2 separate regions of the Homo sapiens genome follow, and region 2 is linked to region 1. Evidence: promoter capture Hi-C in human tissues and cell types (Jung and others, 2019). All regions are on one chromosome and are shown on one strand. The core of a region is centred on a gene start or on the middle of the fragment in contact, and the rest is flanking DNA. Distances in the headings are between cores, read along the strand shown. Region 1 holds the start of MVB12B (multivesicular body subunit 12B). Region 2 has its middle 130 kb from the start of MVB12B.

Region 1 (4,999 bases), core at 353-2,852:
CCTAGCAGGATGGAGACAGGGCAAGAAAAATGCCTTGAACCTAAATTAGGAGTGTGACCTAAAGCCTAGAAGGAAGGAATGAAAAATATGGATTACAGAAGGTAAGTTTAGGTTTAAATGAACCAGTAATCGCCACGTCAACTGCTTCCCATGGGGCTTGGAGCCCGGGTCCCAAGCAGAAGCCTCATCTCTCTGAGGCCCTATTTAAAGATTCTGAGCATGGTACAGTATCTCCAAGGACCCCACATGATTTCTAACAAGCAAGAAAGGTGTCACCATCTACTGTAACTAAACATCCTAGCACATTGAGTTTTTCAGTTAGTCAAGGCTTCACAGAGCTTATTTTTTAACTCTCTAAGCTTTCCTGGTGCCGCTGATAAGATTTCCCAGCCCTGTTAAAACGAGATGAGATCCAGCCAGCTGTCGAGAAATGTACAATGAGATTATACTGAGAAGGAACCACGAGAGACAAAGGCCCCTAAGAGGAGCTGGTCTGCTGTCTGCTTTTGTGGCAGCAATCGGAGTGGGCTCTGGTTCTTGGGTGGGGGCAGGAAGCAGGGAAGGGGCAACCACCATTTGCCTTTTGCCCTCCTGTGGTCTTCCTCAGTGCCTTGTGCAAGAGGTGTTGAGGGGCAGGGAACAGAAGAGTCTCATCTTTCATGGTGAGAAGGGCTGCTGATTTAGAACAGTTGTGTGTTGGTAACAAAGAGGACAAAAGATGCTCTTGGGTCTACCCCGTTCCCTGGTGCCTGCCTCTGAGGATGTGATGTCCCCTGGTGCCATGCCTCAGCTCTTGTCCCAGCCCCTGCTCCTCCCGTCTCGCTGGTGTTGGAGTCACTGTAGGGTGCTCGACGTGCCCACCATGTTCCTGGATGGGTGCTCTGGGTCTCGGGTACCCAGGCTGGGCATGTCACCTTCCAGACAGGTGCCTGAGGGTTTAGGTGTCCTCTCTGCTGTGCCCAGGTCACAGAGGCAGTGATGCTCCTGGGGCAGGTGCACGTTGGTCTGCACCCACGTGACCAGAGAGAGCAGGACCCCAGGCCAGGCCGGTCAAACGATTGACTGTTCCCAGTCTGTGCCCAGGTGGGCCGCCTCCCTCTCACGCGGGCAGAGGTGGCTCTCGGCGCCCCTCACCTGCCCGGGCCTTGGGGGCGCTGCTGGCACTCGGGTCCCCCAGCTTCTCCCGCCTCTCGCCGCCAGGCCGAGCCCGGGCACCGGCAGCCGCGGCGCGCTCGGGGCTCTGCAAAGGCCGCCCGGGCCTGTCCCCGCCGCGGGCCGGGCACGGAGCCCGCAGGCCTCGGCGCGGCCCGGCTCCTCCCGTCCGCCCGCCCCTCGGCCGGGGGCCCGCGCCCGCCCGCCCGCCCTCCCGGCTGCAGGGCCGGCTCCGCCGAGCCTCCGCGGCGCCCGGGCCTCACTTAACTGTTCCCCGCTGGGGCGGCGGCGGCGGTGGCTGCGGCGGCGGCGGGTCCCGGCTCCGTCTCACGCAGAAGCAGCTTCTCATCGCCCGGGCGGCGCGGGAGGGGCCGGGCCCGGGGCCCAGGCGGCAGGAGCCGGCGCCGCAGCTCGAGCGCGAGCCTCACCGAGAGCGGCGGCGGCGGCGGCGGCGGCGGAGGGGCGGGGCGCGGCCTGGCGGCGGCGGCGACAACGGCAGTGGCGGCGGCGGCTCCCTCCGCGGGCCGCGGCGGCGGGCCGGGCTCCGGGCCTCCCGGCGCTGGCGCTGGTTCAGGATCGGGGGAGGCGCCCGGCGCCCGAGGCTGGCTCGGGCGGGAGGAGGGAGAGGGAGCCCTGGCGTCCCGAGCCCGCGCCGCCGCCCCGGCCGGCACCCCGCCTCCCCAGCCTCCCCCTCGACCCAGCCCGTCAGCCGCAGGCAGGGCCCCGGTGCGCCCACCCGGGCCTCCCCGAGCCCGCCGGCGACCCCAGTCCAGCCTCAGGCCCCCGGGAGCCCACGGCCTCTAGAGCCTGGGGCATCGATGGTCCCCGCCCCCAGGCTGGTCTTTTCCAGGGACCCTCAGCCCACTTAGCTCTCGTAGGCCTCGCTGTACGCAAGACCGGTCTTCCGCTCGGCTGCAGATCCCTGGAAGCCCCCAGGCCCTCAGGCTAGAAGTTGGACCCTTCTAAGGACTCTCCGCCCACCCAGCCATTCTAGGCTTCACTGAACCCTAGAATCCTTCAGCTCATCTTCCCCCACCCCCCAGCTCACCTAAGGTGAGCTCAGCCAGTCGTCTCAAACTAACCCCAATTGCCTAGCAATTCTCTTATATTAGTTAGATGATTTATCCCCAGAAGCCTAGAATCAGGTTTATGGGGCCAGCCTCAGGCAAGCATCTAGAAGAAGTTTTTAGCAGGAGTCCTACCCTGCAGTACTTGGGGAAGGCATAAGCCAAGGATAAAATGGAGCTGGATGGTTGGGGGAGGGTCCAGAGCTTGACCCTCAGCTAGAGTGGCTGGTAGGAAAGGCGGACTCTGCGCCTTAACCAACCATGCCCCCCACACCGCCCAGCCAGGCACCCCAGGCAGAGGCCAGCGTGTGCAAGATTTGAAAGGTTTCCTGCCAGGAGGCTGGAGCATTCGTTAGGACTTGAGGACCATGCAGGAGTGATCAGCATTGATTTGCTAATGCATTGAGTCTCATTTTCACACATTCTAGGCTTTTCCATAATAGCTGTTTGATCCTAAAGAGAAGGGTGCCAAGCAGAATGGGCTGTCGGGGGAAACATCCTGTAGGGAAGCCATGCACGTGTGCATTCCCAGTGTCTTCACTACTCAGAAATGCCATGGGTTCAGATGGCTTTACAGCAAGCCTTATCCTCCCATCAGGGCACAGATCATCCCTATGTTACTTAAACTGTTACACAGGAAAAAATAAACAAAAGAAACAAAAATTTTTATTTCATTTCCCAAGTTTAGCATAACCCTGATACCAAAATCCAACAGACAATACCAAAAAGAACTGCAGATGACTAACCTAGAACACGAGTCCCCAGAGAATTTAATATTTATTTTTTGAAAATGGGCTTCTGTGGGCAACTTGAGAAAGTGCTGCATGCCGTTTATAGTGTACCTTTTGGAGAATCACGATAAGTATTCGTATATTAAGGAAGGCCTCTGTGAAGTCCAGGAGTAAAGAAACCTGTTTGGTTTGTTTAACCTGGCATTTCCCAAACTCATCTGAGCCAGGACCACCTTCTAAAGCTCACTGATAAATCCTCAATATGTGAATCTGCACTATATATTTAAGTATATAATAGTCGTAAAACTATTAAATACAATTTTAGCCATTTGAATCCAGTTTACTATTAAAGCAACTGAAAACCCACCATGATCAAGCAAGATTTATTCCAGAGGCGCAAGAAAAATCCAACATTAGGGAATTTGTAAATGCATTGCATTGTTAAAGGAAAACAAATTACAGGATATTATCAATGGGATAGATGCTTTAAAAGTATTTTATAAACTTCAAAACTAATGACCCATAAATTTCTAAAAACTCTTAGTAAACTATTATAGGAAGAAAGTTTAAACTTTTAACATGACAAAGTTTATCAGAAGCCATCAACAAACATATTTAATGGTGAAACACTAAAGGTATTCTCATGTAAGTCAGTCAAAAGGATGCCTGCTATAATGGCTATAGAATAAAGCCAATGCAATAAGATAAGAAAAATAAATAAGAAATATAAATATTAGAAGGGAAGAGATAAAATTGTCATTATTTGCTTATGATTTAAGTGTTTCCCAAAAAGTAAAAATAAAAAAAATCAACTAAAAATCATAGAGACTTTGGTAAGGTGGTCAGTTATAAGATAAACACCAAAATCAATGGTTTTCCTAAATGTTAAGGGAGAAGCCTTCTCCTTCCTTCTTCTTCTTCTTCTTCTTCTTCTTATTATTATTATTATTATTATTATTATTATTCTTTTTTTTCTTCCTTACCCTGTCTTATGGTATTGAAGGGAGAAGCCTTCTTTTCCATATAGAGGGACTTCCATTAGAATAAGACTTCTGGCCTCTCTCCACTCTAAGGGAAGATGAGTGAGTTTGGAAAAAGTGGACAAGAATAGATGCTTCTGAGTTCTCTTTTTGGATTTGGCTGACTGCAGAGAGCAAATATTTCCATGCGCTCTCACTGTGGGTTAAGTGAACCTGTTTCAGGGACAGAGTGATACTATTCTCCTGCACCACCCGCCACTACACAAATAAATCTACTCAATTCAGGGAGAAATATAGCAAGCCCACTTAGCTACAGAGCAAAAGCTACTTTTTCCAGTCAGCTTCATTAAAAATTAAGGTAGTATTTTTGTCTTATGTCTCTTTCCTGTGTCTATGCCCCAGTTTGTTCCAAACTTAGAATAGGGAGGGAGGTATTACTTACAGAGACCTCCAAATACAACACTAAATACCAGTTATTTCCATTTAGGAAGTATGATGGAAAAAAAGCATATTCACATTAGCAATGAATACTATAAGGCATATACTAGGCATAAGCTTAACAAGAAATGTGAAGGTCCATGGAAAGAAAACTACAAACCTGACTGAGGGACATAAAAGAAGATCTTAATAGTCGGAAAAATATAACAAATCCCTGGGCAGGAAGTCTCAACAGTGCAAAGATGCTGTGTCTCCCCAACTCACTTTATAAATTTAGTAAAATTCAGATCAAGAAACCACTATGATCTGAGGGGTGAGGTGAGATGGAACATGATGAAATTATTTTAAAATTTACCTTGATTGGCGTGAGTGTGTTGGCTCATGCTGGTAATCCCAGTACTTTGGGAGGCCAAGGTGGGAGGATTGTTTGGGGCCAGGAGTTTGCGACTAGACTGGGCAACATAGTGAGACCCTGTCTCTAAAAAGATTTTTTAAATGAGCCAGGTATGGTGGTGTGTGCCTGTGGTCCCAGCTACTTGGGAGGCTGTGGTGGGAGGATTGCTGGAACCCAGGAATTTGAGGCTACAGTAGGCTATAATCACGCCACTGCACTCCAGCCTAGGCAACAGAG
Region 2 (4,963 bases), core at 1,340-3,839, 130 kb after region 1:
GGGAGTTGATAAATATGTGGCAATGTCTGGTGCTGGACCCAGCCAGGACAGGAAAGTCAATCTCTCCCTCCCACGGCCCACAGCCACAACCCACAGCAGTCAGGCAACCCCCAAGGGATTGCAGCTTCTTTGCCAGATGGACTGAGTATTTGCCTCAGGGGTGGGTGAAAGACCCCTGCTGATTCACCTGCTGAATGTGCTGTGGTACTGTCAGCCAGAGTGGGGACAGACACTACCTTGACCCACCCCAGGTGTGCACCTGTCCCCGACTCTTGCTGGTGTGCCAAGCAAGGTTGGGGAGTAGGCAGCCAAGAACCTGTCCCTGAGAAGCCAGAAGGCGAGACTGTGTGTGAGCCCAGGTGTCAGACTCCTAGCTCCATTATCCTATCAGACTTCACTTACAAAACACAGATGCAAAGGTCAAATGATTAAGAAGTTCAAAACAGCAGCTTCAGAACAGTGTCTTTTCTTTTTTTTTTTTTTTTTTTTTTTTTTTTTTGAGATGGAGTTTCCTTCTTGTCACCCAGACTGGAGTGCAATGGCACAATCTCAGCTCACTGTAACTTCTGACTCCCAGGTTCAAGCAATTCTCCTGTCTCAGCCTCCTGAGTAGCTGGGATTACAGGTGCCTGCTACCATGCTTGGCTAATTTTTGTATTTTTGGAAGAGATGAGGTTTCACTATGTTGGCCAGGCTGGTCTTGAACTCCTGACCTCACGTGATCTGCCAGCCTTGGCCTCCCAAAATGCTGAGATTACAAGTGTGAGCCACTGTGCCCAGCCCAGAGCAGTATCTTCTAAGCCATAGATTCAAGAAGCAGCTTGGCTTAGCTGGATGTTTCTCCCTTTGGGGATATTTTGGGGTTTGAGAAGAAGGAGGAGCTTTTTCCTCATATAGCTACTGTACCTAAAGATGGGGGGGGGGGGGATGGAAAGTGTTGTAGTATTTACCATTAATTGGTAAGTAATAAAATAATTTTTAAAACATTACTTCATATTAAACAATTTATATGTGTGTATTTAAATAAAGAGATAGATGAAATAAAATGCAAAATTTGCATGACCTTTTAGAAACAAATAATAAATATTTCTTTGCTTGTAATAAGCCACTTTAGACTGCGTCCCCAGATCTTTCAGGGAATATTTTCTATTTTCTCAGGGTTGAGGGCAACTCGTGTGGAAATGTTTGGCCTTAGTTCCAGTTCCTGCTCAGTCACTTCTTGGAAAAGACACTCCCCTCTCTGAACCTCACTGTTTTCATCTCTGGAATGAAATCTCTAAATTCCATTGCAGCTCACATTGTAAGATTGTACAGTAACTTTGCTTCATTTCTCTGGGTATCCTTCTTGTCTGCTACCATGCCTGGCACATGGCAAGTGCTCAATCCACCACTGTTGGGTAAAATTCAGATGAGATTTGGCTAATATGTCTGTAGAATAAATCCCTAACAGTGAAATTGCTAGATCAAAGGGCTTGTGCACTTTTAATGTTGAAAGATTTTGCCCAATTTTCTCCAACAAATGTTTTATGCATTGATATATTTTTCACACCTGTGTCAACACTGTGTGTTAACAAGGTTTTGATGTTTGATGGAATAATCAATGAGAAGGGGTATTTTGCCATAGGTTTTCATTTCTGCTATTTTGAGCTAGGCTGAGCATCTTTTCATTTGCTTAAGAGCCATTTGAGTTTGTGTTCTTAGAAAGCTGTCTCTTCAAGCCCTTAGCTCTTCTAGTGGGTCATTGTTTTTTATTTATTTTTAAACCTATTGTAGGCATTCTTTGTATTAAAGAAATCAGTCATTTATCAATCTGTTTGTTGCAAACACCTTCCCTAGTGTGTTATTTGTCTTGTCACTCTATTTTATTCTTGCACATTAAACTTTTTTTCTCATTTGAATTCATCTCTTTTATGGCTTCTGGGTCTTGTGTCTTATTTCAAAAGCCCTCTCTTATGACAAGATTGTTATTTTTAAATCTCTATTGTTATAGTACTTTTTATGTTTTTAAACTTTATATTTAAATGTTTCAGCTGTGTGGAATGGCTTTGATGTAAGGCGTGAGGTAGGGATCTGATGGCTTTTTTTCCAGATGGTTTCCTGTTATGCCAATACCATTTATTAAATACTCCATGTTTTCCCTTTGATAAGAAATACTACAAGAAAAAAACAAACAACCCCATTAAGAAGTGGGTAAAGGACATGAACAGACACTTCTCAAAAGAAGACATTCATGTAGCCAACAAACATGAAAAAACGCTCAGTATTACTGATCATTATAGAAATGCAAATCAAAACCACCATGAGATACCATCTCATACCAGTCAGAATGGTGATTATTAAAAAGTCAAGAAACAACAGATGCTGGCGAGGTTGTGGAGAAAAAGGAATGCTCTTACACTACTGGTGGGAGTGTAAATTAGTTCAAACATTGTGAAAAACAGCGTAGTTATTCCTCAAAGATCTAGAAGTATAAATACCATTTGACTCAGCAATCCCATTACTGGATATATACCCAAAGGAATATAAATCATTCTATTATAAAGATACATGCACACATATGTTCATTGCAGCACTATTCACAATAGCAAAGATGTGGAATCAACCCAAATACCCATCAATGTTAGACTGGATAAAGAGAATGTGGTACATATACACCCTGGAATACTATGGTATTCCATTAAAAAGCCTTAAAAAGGAATGAGATCATGTCATTTGCAGGGACATAGCTGGAGCTGGAAGCCATTATCCTCAGCAAACTAATGCAGGAAGAGAAAACCAAACACTGAATGTTCTCACTTATAAGTGGGAGCTGAATAATGAGAACACATGGACACATGGTGAAGAACATCACACACTGGGGCCTGTTGGAGGTGTGTGTGGCACGGGGAGAGCATCAGGAAGGCTAGTTAATGGATGCAGGGTGATGAGTTGATTTGTGCAGCAAACCACCATGCACACATTTACCCATATAACAAAGCTGCACATCCTGGACATGTACCTAGAACTTAAAATAAAATTGAAAGGAAAAAAAGAAAAAAAGAGAAAGAAATACTACCTTTATCATACATTACATTCTCATTTCTTACTGGATACATTTCTGTGCTCCATTTGATCAACTGGCCAGTCTTTCTACTCTTATATCACAATCACAACATTTTAATTACTGAACTTCAGTGATTTGTCATAATATATGGTAGAGCTATTTCTTCCTCATTGCTCTTTTTTTTTCCAGAATGTTGCTGGCTATTCTTGTGTATATTTGGTTTTCCAGATAAGCTTTATAATTGGCTTGTCTATTTAAAAAATTCTGTTGGCCTATTTATTGTGATCTTACTAAATGTATATATTAATTTAGGAAGATTTGATCTCTCTTAACATTTTAATCTTCAAATTGAAAAAAATCTATCATTTGCTACTTAGAAGAAAACACCAAGAAAAACATAACAGATAAAAAAATGATGAGCAAAATTTTTCAAGCAAATGCAAGGGAAACGAAAGCAAAAGTAGTAATATTACTTCATCTTATATTGATCAAAGTGATCATCCATAATGAATACAAACAGATATTAACTTTTATGCAATTACTAATACCATATATCTCTATATAAAGCAAAATTGGGAACATAAGGAATGAACAGAAATAATTGCTGGGGGAGACTTTTAGGAGCACTATTTGATTCCTCCATATACCAAGTAGACAACCCGTAAAATGTAGAATTAATCTTTAGTCATTTAAAAAATATGACCAAATTAACAGAAACACTTAATTTGTACCTTAATAATAAAAAACCTGTATTTTAAATATTCTTAGAAAATTTATAAAAATTGTTTATATAGCAGCTGTATTAGTCCATTCTCACACTGCTGTAAAGACACTACCTGAGACTGGTAATTTATGAAGAAAAAACGTCTAATTGGCTCACAGTTCCACATGGCTAGGAAGCCTCAGGAAACTTACAAACATGGCAGAAGGCAAAGGAGAAGCAAGTACCTTCTTCACAAGGCGGCAGGAGAGAGTGTGAACGAATGAGGAAGTGCCACACTTAAAACCATCAGCTCTCAGGAAAACTCACTCACTGTCATGAGAACAGCATGGGAGAAACCGCCTTCATGATCCAATCACCTCCCACCAGGTCCCTCCCTAGACATGGGGGGATTACAATTCAAGATGAGATTTGGGTGGGGACACAGAGCCAAATCTTATCAGCAGCCCACACATTTAAAAAGCTAAAATTTCTAAGTCTCTTTCTCTGAACACAGTTAGTAAAACTAAAGGTTAACTGAGTCCTCTAGAGAAACCAAAAATCCAGCTATGTCACAACAGAAAGCTCTTTGTAAAAACAAAAACAGGCAAACCTCTGACAAATCAAAAAATATCAGACAGAATATTAATATATCAAGATACAATTGAGAAATTAGATAAAACAATAGCTAAAGAAGTGATTTTAAAAAATTACATTATAAGGGATTGTTATGGGAATCTCTGTACTTATATGTTAAAATTTCAATAAAAGATACTTCTCTGGGACAATATAAATTACCAAATTGACTCAACGTTTAAGTTTAAAAAAAAACTAAATGGACTAATAATAATGAAAAAAAATTTTAAAGTTATAAAAACCTACCCCCTAAAGAAAGATTGAACCAACCATTAAGAGTATAAAAGTAAAAGTTAATAAGGCAATGTAGCATAAGCTACAAAATAGACAAATGATATAAAATGAAGACCCCAGAAATCAATCTCCTGCATTTAAAAAAGTATGGTATATTACAGAGTCAGGATTGCAAACCATCAAGGAAAGAATGGATTAGAACAACTGGTTATCCACATGAAAAATATATATCCTTATCTTATACCATAAACAATTATAATATGCTGTTTATGGATGAATTAAAGATATAAATGTGAAAAGCAAAACATTAAAACAGTTGGAAAAAAATTTAGGCAAGTTACTTGACAAAC

What was found. Contacts are between HindIII fragments. The study calls those that stand out against the background at their distance.
Region 2: a contact is called between a fragment that was not itself captured here and the fragment with the promoter of MVB12B in region 1, in 3 of the 25 tissues and cell types used here (IMR-90 fibroblasts, hippocampus and mesendoderm cells).

What each region holds. Positions count from the first base shown.
Region 1 is chr9:126,323,432-126,328,430 of GRCh38, reverse strand. It overlaps MVB12B (multivesicular body subunit 12B), which reads right to left and starts at 1,602. Exons shown (of 10, transcript NM_033446.3): 1 at 1,421-1,602. The coding sequence starts at 1,501. RefSeq lists an enhancer at 385-1,036 and a silencer at 1,478-1,617. The HindIII fragment of the contact is 8,205 bases long and covers 1-4,999 here.
Region 2 is chr9:126,198,130-126,203,092 of GRCh38, reverse strand. No RefSeq gene overlaps it. Among named protein-coding and RNA genes, the nearest start is that of MVB12B, 130 kb to the left of the region's middle. The HindIII fragment of the contact is 6,735 bases long and covers 1-4,963 here.